Linked DNA regions of Homo sapiens: region 2 is linked to region 1. The links are contacts of gene promoters, found by promoter capture Hi-C in human tissues and cell types (Jung and others, 2019). All regions are on one chromosome and are shown on one strand. The core of a region is centred on a gene start or on the middle of the fragment in contact, and the rest is flanking DNA. Distances in the headings are between cores, read along the strand shown.

Region 1 (5,737 bases), core at 1,686-4,185:
GTTGGAATGTGCTCCCTCTGAAAGGACCTCCTTGTGGCTCCAGTGACGGTTAGAGCAGGAAGAGACTTTCAAAGTCATGTAACACACACACACACACCCCAGACCTGAATCCCTGCTCCCTCAGCTGCCCCAGTGGCCCCAGCATCCACTGCTTGGGGGCGGTGGGGTCAGGTGCAGGGTGATGTTTCTGGAGCAGGCAAGTGAATGCAGTCAAGGCTGACCTGTGTCACCCCTCCCCTGGTTACCTGTGTCACACTTGACCTGTCCAGCTTGGGCTCTGCCAAGAAGTTGAGGTATCAGTGTGTGTGCACATGTGCTGTGTGAGTGCCTTCATGTGTGATCAGTCCCAAAGGCTCTCACCCCTGGGTTGTTTTGTTTTGTTTTGTTTTTTGACGGAGTCTTACTCTGTTGCCCATGCTGGAGTGCAATGGCGCAATCTTGGCTCACTGCAACCTCCGCCTCCCGGGTTCAAGCGATTCTCCTGCCTCAGCCTCCCAAGCAGCTGGGACTACAGGCATGGGCCACCATGCCCAGCTAACTTTTGTATTTTTGGTAAAGACGGGGTTTCTCCATGTTAGTCAGGCTGGTCTCGAAATCCTGACCTCGTGATCCACCTGCCTCAGCCTCCCAAAGTGCTGGGATTACAGGCGTGAGCCACGGCACCCAGCCTATGTGTCAAATTCTTACTATGTGCTGTGCTAAGCATGTGACATTACTTGTGTCCTCCAACAACCCTTGAGATAGTTATCATTATGTCTCCATTTCACAGATAATGAAAGAGGCTCTGAGAGATTGTGTGCCTCACCTAGGTCACACAACTGGTGAGCAGCCTAACCACATTCAAACCCAGACCCCAGAGCTGTCTGACCCCAGCACGGGTGTTCTGTCCACGGATCATACTGCCTCAAAAACACTCTCCTCTCCTTTCTCTCTCTCTTTCTCTCTCTCTCTCTCTCTCTCTCACACACACACACACACACACACACAGAGATGATGATGACAAGAGGGTGACAAGCATTGGGTCGCTCAAAGGCAAAGGAGAGGCACCAGGCTGGTAACCACTTTCTGAGTGCATAACACTTTATAGCTTACAAAGCATTTTCACATCTGTGATCTCACTTGATCCCACAACAGCTCTGTGAGATCAGCAGGGAGGCCCAGTTGAAGGAAGGTGACCTGCCCAGTGTCACACAGACAGAAAATGGTAGCTCTGGGACTAGAACCCCAGGGGCAATCTGGACTTCCTGGCTCTAAGTCCTGAGTGCACCCACAGGCTTCTGGCCTGTGTTCCCAAGGAAAGTAGCCCAGAGGGCAAAGCTAGAGCTGATGAAATGGAAGGACCGATGGAGAAGCAGGAGAGCCCAGCCCTCTCTTGATCTATTTACTTTGAGTCTTGCTCTGTCCCCCAGGCTGGACTGCAGTGGCGCAGTCACAGCTCACCGCAGCCTCAACCTCCCTGGCTTAAGCCATCCTCCCGCCTCAGCCTCCAGAACAGCTGGGACCACAAGGCAGGCGTACCACCATGTCCAGAAAATTTTATAATTTTTTGTAGAGATGGGGTCTCAAATGGTTCTTTCTGCCTTGGCCTTCCAAAGTGCTAGGATTACAAGCATGAGCCACCACACCTGGCCCCAGCCCTCTTTCTGTAGTCGTGTGACAACTGACAGCTCAGTACTCCATCTGGGCCTCAGTTTCCTCATCTATGATGGAAGTAATCAGAGAGAAGCTTTGGGATGGTGCCCAGCACTAACATTCTGGATGTGCGACAAGGTGTCTGTGAAGGTGTAAGGGCTTTGAAAATCTTGGCTGAGCCTGGGCTTGGAGTGCCCACGGCTGTGACTTGGCAACCTGTGCCAGCTACTCACTTAGCGACTTCAAGCAATTCATTTCAGCATCTCCCAGCCTCAGTTTCCCCATCTGTAAAACAGAGATGAGGATGATACCTGCCTCACATTCACTCACCTTTGACATACTCTCCAAACAAGTCTGGTGGCCACAAGCCTCCGAAAGGCACTGACCGTAATGAAGATGGCGTTTATCAGACCTCAGGACACCTGTAGTGGCCCTGAATTAAAACTCGTTATAGCTCCTGAAATTATCCTGAGTAATACTATTATATTGCATTTTATGTGGGGTTAGTTCAAAGCATTACCTTATCGCAAACATTTAAAATATACCACCCAGCCTGGGCAATACGGCGAGACCCAATCCCTACAAAAAACACAAAAATTACCTGGGTGTGGTGACGCGCGCCTGTAGTCCCACTTACTTGGAGGGGGCGCTGAGGCAGGAGAATCCCTTTAGCTCAGGAAGTTGAGCCTGCAGTGCGCCGAGATCGAGCCACTGCACTCCAGCCTGGGTGACAGAGACCCGGTCTCAAAAATATAAAGTAAAATAAAATATGCCACCATTTTTGTAACCCTGGTTTGTCATTTATTCACTTTTCATATACTCGAAGCCTTAAAACAAGGCCAGTGGAAAGACCTCACTCCACGAAGCTTTGGGTGGCGGTTGGCGTGGCTCCTAGAGATGTGATTCTTTCGTGCTATTTTGTGGGAGCAGAAACGGAGGTTAGCCCAGGCCTCGAGAGGGCTGGGGCGGGGCGCGGGCTCTGGCAGGTGCGTCAGTCCGCAGGGGAACCCGGGGCTCCACCTGGGCGCGGCGAGGAAGTTACACCATGTATGGGCAGCTACGTCAGGGGGGCGGGCCCGCAGCCTCCGGGGAACGCCGAGCCGGGCCCATCCCGGTGAAAAGGCTGCAGCCGGACTTGGGGAGGCGTCGCCAAGTTCGGGACCGACGGGCCAAGGCGGCGCGTCTCGGGGGTGGAGCCTGGAGGTGACCGCGCCGCTGCAACGCCCCCACCCCCCGCGGTCGCAGTGGTTCAGCCCGAGAACTTTTCATTCATAAAAAGAAAAGACTCCGCACGGCGCGGGTGAGTCAGAACCCAGCAGCCGTGTACCCCGCAGAGCCGCCAGCCCCGGGCATGTTCCGAGACTTCGGGGAACCCGGCCCGAGCTCCGGGAACGGCGGCGGGTACGGCGGCCCCGCGCAGCCCCCGGCCGCAGCGCAGGCAGCCCAGCAGGTGAGTGGGGCCCGACGCCGGTGGTCCCACGGGAGGACCGCGCGTGGGAGGCCGGGGTCAACTCCCGCACGCTCCGGGACTGGAGCGGGGAACCGGAGTCGGGGCCGGGCTGGGGGCTGGGGCGAGGATCCTGCCCCTCGCCGTCCGGGGCCAGTTGCCCCCACCGCGCAGCGGGCAGCAGAGACCCGCGAACTCCCCTTCTCCCAGCCGCCCCCTTCTCCCTCGCCGTCCGCGTCCGTCCCTCCGTCTCCGTGCCCGCTTTCTCTCCTCCTGCCCACCTCTGACTTCTGCGTCCACCCTGCTTCAGAAGGGGCGTGGGCGCCTAGGGTGGTCGCCTCGAAGGCTAGGAGGGTCTCTCCGCTTCGGGCTGAATTCCTGGGATCTGGAGTCTGGGCTGGGGTGAGGGTCCCCACACGGGAGGGAGGCGGGATCCGTCGGGAGAGCAGCTGGGCCAGGGTGGGAGTCCCGGCCCGGTCTGCGACCCTCCGCGTGTCCGTCCGTCTGTCTGTCCTTCGCCCCTCCGTCGCCAAGTCCCTATCGTTTCTCGGCCTGGGGAGTCCAGGGGGGTCCGGGCAGTGGAACCTGCCAGGTCCCCGGAGACCGGCCCTCGATCCCTTTGCCGAATGCGGCGAATAGAGACCTCGAGGTTCCGGGACGTGCGCGGGGTCAGGCTGCGGGCGACTCTCGCGACCCCACTCTCAGCCCCTAACGGCGCCCGCTGCCCGCCGGGGGGCACCCGGGAGGCTGCAGGTGCCCATTTCCTGTCGAGGGGCTGCGAGCACGTGTCGACAGGGGAGGGAAGGAGGGGCGTCCGTTCCGCCGAGTCACGGCGGCCGAGTCACGGCGGCTGAGTCACCCGGGGCGTCCCTCCCTTCCTGGCCTGGAGCGGCCCGGGCCCGGGAGTGGGAGATGCCGCCGGCGGTGCCTCGGACCCGGAACTGGGGTCACTGGGACGCCGGGCCCGCAGCGCTTGGGCTCGGGCTACCGCTGTCGGGACTTGCCTGGGCTTGTGGGCGCTTCCCGGACGATTGGGCGCCCACACCCAGGGCCCAGCGGCAGAGCTAGAACCCACTTCTCCCAGAACACTGAGCCCCATCCCAACCCACTCCTCAGATAGCTGGCTGATAGAATGGGAACAGGGACGTTGTGCTGGGCGCTTGCTACATCATTTACCATATTTCACGGAATCGAAGACCTCATCGATTGAAAAAAAAACCCACTATAACTTTATGCCACTAATTTTCTTTCCTTCTCTTTCTTTTCTTTTTTTTTTTTTTTCTGAGACAGGGTCTCCCTCTGTTGCCCAGACTATAGAGCAGTGGTGCAATCACAGCTCACTGCAGCCTCAGCCTCCTGGGCTCAAGCAATCCTACTGAGATCCTAGCTGGGAAGCGACCTGGCCACAGGCACGCACCACCACACCCAACTAATTTTTTAATTTTTTTGTAGAAATGAAGTCTCACTGTGTTGCCCGGTGTGACCTCAAACTCCTGAGCTCAAGTGATCCTTCTACCTCAGCCTCCCAAAGTGCTGGGTATGAGCCACCATGCCTAGTCCACTAAAATTTTTTAAATTGCCAATTAAACTATGATTTCAGAGCTATTAAAGGGTACTTCTTAACATCAGTGAAATCCTGTAATCCTCACCTGTAACAATATTAAAAATGAGGAAACTGAGGCACATGGAGGTTAAATAACTTGCCCATGGTCACACAGCCAGTAAGTAGCTGAGAGCTGAGATTAGAATTGGGACAGCCTGCCATGCCAGGTGGCTAAAGCCTGTCATCTCAACACTTTGGGAGGCTGAGGTGGGTGGACTGCTTCAGCTCAGGAATTTGAGACCACCCTGGGCAACCTAGTGAGACCCTGTCTCTACAAAAAAATTTAAAAAAAATTAGCCAGGCCGTGCGCGGTGCCTCATGCCTATAATCCCAGCACTGTGGGAGGCCAAGGCGGGTGGATCACCAGAGGTCAGGAGTTCAAGACCAGCCTGGCCAACATAGTGAAACCCTGTCTCTACTAAAAATACAAAAATTAGCCGGGCACAGTTGTGGGCGCCTGTAGTCCCAGCTACTCGGGAGGCTGAGGCAGGAGAATTGCTTGAATCCAGGAGGTGGAGGTTGCAGTGAGGCGAGATCGGGCTACTGCACTCCAACCTGGGTGACAAAGCAAGACTGTGTCTCAAAAAAAAAAAAACAGAAAAGAAAAAAAAAATTAGCCAAATGTGGTGGTGCACGTCGGTAGTCCCAGCTACTTGGGAGGCTGAGGTGGGAGGATTGCTTGAGCCCGCAGGTCACTGCACTCCAACCTGGGTGAAAGAGTGAGACCCTGTCTCAAGAAAAAAAAAAAAAAAAGCAATGGAATGGCCTGAACCCAGAGCAGTGACTCTTTCCTGCCTCAGCCCCTCTGCACTGGGCACCTGCCACTTACCAGACTGTCGCACACATTCTCTCACCTGATTCTCACAGCCTCCCCTTGAGCTGGGAGCTGTAATTATCCTCTTCGTGCAAACGGGTGCAGGAGTGGGTAAGAGCCCAGCTGCTGGGCTCATTGGCTCTGTGTCTGCGGACAACTGTTCTCCCGTCTGAAAATGAAGATACTAGGCTGGGCGCTGTGGTTCACGCCTGTAATCCCAGCACTTTGGGAGGCCGAGGCG
Region 2 (6,116 bases), core at 3,566-6,065, 640 kb after region 1:
ATCACAATGCCTCCCCTGTAGAGCAGAAATGGAGAATCACATTATTAGTTTGCTTTCATTTTGTTCTTACCTCATGCTCAAAAGAGTTCAGGATCTCTGAGGTAAGGCCAACTTTATGTGTGCTGGTGCAGAAGGCTATAAGCTCGCCTACCATTCCCTCCTCATTCTGTCCATACTGAACACAAAGCTCTACCACTGTAGAAAGGAAAATTGGACAAGTAAAAACTTAGTTCATTTCTCGAAGTTTCACCTAGAAAAGCAAAAATAATCCTGGTTTACTCCATCAATGTTTATTCAGAATCTATTAGTGCCAGGCACTGTTTTGGGCAATGAGAAAACAGAAGCATCCTTGTCCTTACAAAGCTCACCACTGAGGGGAGACAAAAGAGGATAAGGGCAGAATCAGGGGGACCAATTAAAGAATCATGGAAAAGCCCAGGTGAGAGATGATGGTGGCTTGGATCAAGGTGGTGGCAGTGGAGATGGCGAGAAGTGGCTGGACTCTGGATAGGACTTTACATGCTGGAAGTGAAGCCAGTGGGATCTGCTAACTGAATGTAAGGTATGAGAAAAAGAAAGTCAAGGATGATGCTGATATTTTTAGCCTGTGCAACAGGAAGAGTGGCGTCCCTATTAACTGAGATGGGGAAAAGAGCCAGAGGAACTACTCTGAGGAGAGAGAGGAGATACCAGGAGCTTAGTTTTAGACATGCAGAGTTTGAGGTGCCATTTAGACATCCAACTGGAGACAGCAGGCTGAACAAACCAGCCTGTAGTTCAGGCAAGGGTTGTGGGCGGAGGTATAAATTTGGGAACCATCAGTAAATACATGGGATATAAAGCTATGAGACCCCAGGTGAGATCGCCAAGGGAGTGAGCGTATCTAGAAGGGAGAAAAGATCCCAGGCTTGAGTCTTGGGGCGCCTTAGGGCCTCTGAGGATGAATCGGCAAAGCCTGAGAAGCGGTGACACAAGCAAAGCTGAAGAAAAACTAGGAGTAAGCCGGATGCAGTGGCTCACGCCTGTAATCCAGTATTTTGTGAGGTTGAGGTGGGCAGACTGTTTGAACCCAGAAGTTTGAGACCAGCTTGGGCAACAGGGTGAAACCGTTTCTATAAAAAATACAACAATTAGGTGGGCTTGGTGGCATGTGCCTGTAGTTACAGCTACTTGGGGGCTGAGGTGGAAGGATTGCTTGAGCCAAGGAGGTTGAGGCTGCAGTGAGCTGTGATTTGCCCATTATACTCCAGCCTGGGCAACAGAGCAAGACCCTGTCTCAGAAAAAAAAGAAAGAAAAACTAGTAGTGTCTAAGAAGCTAAAAGAAAAATGTGTTTAAAAAAAGAAAAAATGACAAACAGTGTCAAGTGCCGGTGCTAATTCAATTCAAGATGAGGACTGAAAATTCATCACTGGTTTTAGCATGGTGAAGGTCACTGGTGACCTTGAGTAGAGCAGCTTTGGTGAAGTGGTGGCAACAAAAGAACTTACTGAAATGGATTTAAGGAGGAAATATTTAAAGATGGCAAGGCCCCCCCCCTTTTTTTTTTGGAGACAGAGTTGCACTCTGTTGCCAGGCTGGAATGCAGTGGCACGATCTCGGCTCATTGCAACCTCCACCTCCCCGATTCAAGCGATTCTCCTGTCTCAGCCTCCCAAGTAGCTGGGACTACAGGCATGCGCCACCATGCCCAGCTAATTTTTGTATTTTAAGTAGAGACCGGGTTTCACCACGTTGGCCAGGATGGTCTCCATCTCTTGACCTTGTGATCCGCCCTCCTCCGCCTCCCAAAGTGCTCGGATTACAGGCGTGAGCCACCGCACCCGGCCGACCCTTTTGAGGTCTGCTGTAATTGGGAAGGAGAGAACTGGAGTGGGAAGTAGGGTCAACAGAGTATTTTAAAGGCAAGATTGGAAGCACATTTCTATACTAGTAGGAAAAAAATCTTGTAGCAAGGAAAATAGAAAATATGTAAGACAGGAGAATTACCAGTGATGTCCTTAATTGCTTCAGAAGGAATGGGGTTTAGGACTCAAGTGGAGGACTTGGATTTTGCTAGGAATACGGAAAGCTTATTCATTATAATAGGAAAGAAGGCTAGGTATATGCCACAGATATGGGTCAGTGAGACATAATGGTGGTAGCTGATCGAAGTTTTCTAATGCTTCTACATTTTTCAGCAAATAATAGAAATTTGTCAGCTGAGAGTGAGGGTGGGACAGAAGGATGTTACAGGAGAAGGTGGAAAACAATCATCTGGAAGACTCAGAGTAAAGAGACCAGGGGCCTGGCGCAGTGTAATCCCAGCACTTTGGGAGGCCAGGGTGGGCGGATCACCTGAGGTCAGGAGTTGAAGACCAGCCTGGCCAACATGGTGAAACCTTGTCTCTACTGAAAATACAAAAAGTAGAACAGGTGTGGTGGCTCACACCTATAATCCCAGCACTTTGGGAGGCCGAGGTGGGAGGATCACTGGAGGTCAGGGGTTCGAGATCAGCCTGCCCAACATGGCGAAACCCCATCTCTACTAAAAATACAAAAAATTAGCCGGGCGTGGTGGCGGGAGCCTGTAATCCCAGCTACTCGGGAGGCTGAGGCAGGAGAACCGCTTGAACTCGGGAGGCAGAGGTTGCAGTGAGCCAAGATTGCACCATTGCACTCCAGCCTGGGCAATGAGAAACTCCATCTCAAAAAACAAAACAAACAACAACAAAAAAAACAGGGAAATACGGTTGACTGTCAGGAAACATTAAGGTGCCACTGAAGTTACTGATGATCCAAAGTCCACAATTCCAAAGCCATTGCCATGAGATGAAAGCAACTGGCATCTTGGCCTGAAGCCTTTACAAATCTGGTTCACATAACTAATTTCTCTCATGCTGATTTCATGCTTACCACATACATTTCTGACTATGATCAGGTTTTCCACTTAAGTCTTTTTTTTTTTTTTGAGACAGAGTCTCGCTCCTGTTGCCCAGGCTAGAGTGCAATGGTGTGATCTCGGCTCACCACAACCTCTGCCTCTCATGTTCAAGCGATTCTTCCGCCTCAGCCTCCTGAGTAGCTGGGATTACAGGCATGCGCCACCACGCCCGACTAATTTTGTATTTTTAGTAGAGACAGGGTTTCTCCATGTTGGTCAGGCTGGTCTCAAATTCTCGACTTCAGATTATCCACCTGCCTTGGCCTCCCAAAATGCTGGGATTACAGGCGTGAGCCACCACACCTGGCTAGTCTTCTTTTAAAAAGAGAAGGACCGAGCCTGCTGGCTTATGCCTGTAATCCCAGCACTTTGGAAGGCCAAGGTGGGTGGATCACTTGAGGTCAGGAGTTCGAGAGCAGTCTGGCCTACATGGTGAAACCCCTTCTCTACTAAAAGTACAAAAAAAAATTAGTCGGGCCTGGTGGCGGGCGCCTGTAATCCCAGCTACTTGGGAGGCTGAGGCAGGAGAATCGCTTGAACCTGGGAGGCGGAGGCTGAAGTGAGCCGAGATTGCACCACTGCACTCCAGCCTGGGTGATAAAACAAGACTGTCAAAAAAAAAAAAAAAAAAAAAGAGAGAGAGAGAAGGCACTGGGCATGAAGACTTGAAGTATTCTGGTTTCTGAAAGGAATTTCTCACCATAAATTAACGTTTCGTTATCTTTTTGTATATAAGAAGTTCAAAGTGTTGAGTGGTTAAGGCAGGTGCACATTCATACCGATTCTAGAACTTCCACATCTCCCAGGCTTTGCTTCAAATGACTCCTTACACTGCTCTACAGCTTGACCAACACGATGGACCCGTATGATGCAGCACGGGACTCCAAGGCAGGACACCTGGCTTCACAGACAGCTCAGGCAATTAGCTTTCCTTGTCTGTTTCTCCATCTGTAAAGCTCCCTAAAGCTCCTTCCACAGCTCAAATTCAATTTTAGGAACCTACCTCAAGGGATTCATATTTGCACAGACCACCAACAGCTATGATAAAATAACTGATGGATCAGCAGAGGTTTAAGGTGTAGGCTGGAAAGGGAGGAGCCAAGAATAAAAAGCTACATTTCAAAACCCCCACATCTGTTGCTTTGTTACCGGGGCTTCAACAATTTCCAAACTCAGGTGCCACCAGTGCCTAGTCTCTATCTAGCACATCCCAATTCCGCCTTTCGGGAACTTCGAGTTGGTTTAAAATCGTGCTGCATATTCCTATTTTTGATTTGGCATCCAAGCGGTACCCGGTGGGCATTTCAAAGTCCCCACATCCTAAATCTCAAAACTCAAGTTTGATTCTTCATCTCACAGCCACCGAGAACTCTGCTCCAGGGGAAGTGGAAATTGGAAGCGCTCCACTTTCGGTTCTAGGCGCCGAGGAACTCGGGCGAGAGCGTGGAGCACGGCTGCAGGGCGGGAGGGGTGCGGGACTCACATTTCTCAATTAGAGCCTCCTCGCAGTCTAGGCCGAAGATCTGCAGCTCCTCCGCCAGCTGCTGGGCGGATGCGGACATGGTCGCCCAAGCCAGGGGCCGGGGAGCCGGCCCACCCAGCTCCGACCTGCGCCCAAGAAGCCCACGGGGGTGGCGAGCGATGAGCTCCTCGCCCTCTTATCCTTCCCCCCTCCGCGGACCGTGACAGGAGGTGACTGGCCCAAGCAAGACCTCAGACCGTCAGAAGGCCCCGGCCGTCGGTCACAGAGAAATACTTTTTTTAAAAAATGAAGGGGTGGCTCCCAAACGCCCTGAATGGAGGGAGCAGAAATCTCGAGAGGACGCTCTCCTGGTGAGAACGTCCTGCTTCCCAAAAGCTACCGCTGAGCTTCTCAGTGACGGTGGCAGAACTGAGTGGCCGGAAAAACCCGCCAAATGGTTTGTGCAGTGCACGCATGCGCGAAACCGGGAGCCAACCCCAAACCTTCCCCTTGCTTTCCCCGGCTCATTCCGGAACCCCACGCGCGCACGCGCGGCCCAGGGCGCGTGCGCATCAGCGGGCGTGTGGGCGTCTCTACGCACGCGCCTGGCGGCCCGCCAGTCAGCAGCTGCGCAGTTCTCTCTCACGGCGCGAGAATGCCGGTTGTGACTCGCAACGCCCGGGAGTTGCCTACAAGGAAACTGAGTCTGTGTGCGGATGCCTGTTTTCTGGGCATCGGCTGCTCGATAAAACTCAGTGGCGCATGTTTGTCACCCTTTTGCCCTGTTCCGTGGTGCGCAGGCGTTGTCGTGCGCGTGCCTTCGACTATCTAAAACTTACTGTACCCCCTTCTCCATTCCCCTTGTCATCTCTGCCTGTTGTGCCCTTGGTTCATCCTAAAAGAATGGCTTCAGTAGGGAATCTGGTTGCCATGGTTATTATCGTGCTTATCACCGTGGTGCCAGCCACAGTGATGGGTATGTTTTCTGAATCTGGGGCATTTGGGGGGATATGAGGTGGGAAGGTGACGGATAATTTAGTTTTGGACACGTTAAGTTTGAGTGCCTCTGGGATTTCCAGGTAGAGATTCCCAGTGGGTGACTGGAGGCTTGGGAGTGAAGGTAGGTCACTCAAGGATAGAGTTTAGGGGTAAGATGAGAAGAGGGTTCTCCCCTTGAAATACACCGTAATTCTTTGAGCCAAAAATCTCAACCGTAGGCGTCATACAATGCTGGTGGGATGGTATAGAGCGTTTCGAGAAAACAATTTAGCAATATGTATCAGGAACCTTTAAAATGTCCATCCCAGGCCAGGTGCGGTCACTCACGCCTGTAATCCCAGCATTTGGGAGGCCGAGGCAGGCGGATCACTTTGTAGCAGGACGAGCCACAGACAAAACTCCTCAGACACCCGAGTTAAAGAAGGAAGGGGTTTATTCGGCTGGGGTCATCGGCAAGACTCCTGTCTCACCAGCCGAGCTCCCCGAATGAGCAATTCCTGTCCCTTTTAAGGGCTCACAACTCTAAGGGGGTGCGCCTGAGAGGGTCGTGATCAATTGAACAAGCAGGGGGTACGTGACTGGGGGCTGCATGCACCAGTAATTAGATCAGAACAAAACAGGATAGGGATTTTCACAGTGCTTTTCTATACAGTGTCTGTAATCTATAGATAACATAACTGATTAGGTCAGGGGTCCATCTTTACCAAGCCTAGGGTGTGAGGCCGGGCTGTCT

What was found. The method cuts DNA at HindIII sites, captures the fragments that hold promoters and counts their contacts. A contact is called where the count stands out against the background at its distance.
Region 2: a contact is called between the fragment with the promoter of POLA2 here and the fragment with the promoter of FOSL1 in region 1, in 1 of the 25 tissues and cell types used here (dorsolateral prefrontal cortex).

The regions. Positions count from the first base shown.
Region 1 is chr11:65,897,586-65,903,322 of GRCh38, reverse strand. FOSL1 (FOS like 1, AP-1 transcription factor subunit) reads left to right here and starts at 2,935. Exons shown (of 4, transcript NM_005438.5): 1 at 2,935-3,082. The coding sequence starts at 2,984. RefSeq lists a cis regulatory region at 1-197 and silencers at 2,544-3,143, 3,752-3,871, 3,837-4,064. The HindIII fragment of the contact is 4,995 bases long and covers 2,113-5,737 here.
Region 2 is chr11:65,260,661-65,266,776 of GRCh38, reverse strand. POLA2 (DNA polymerase alpha 2, accessory subunit) reads right to left here and starts at 4,815. Exons shown (of 18, transcript NM_002689.4): 1 at 4,406-4,815; 2 at 71-195. The coding sequence starts at 4,484. RefSeq lists enhancers at 3,904-4,789, 4,546-4,795, 4,790-5,677. The HindIII fragment of the contact is 14,798 bases long and covers 1-6,116 here.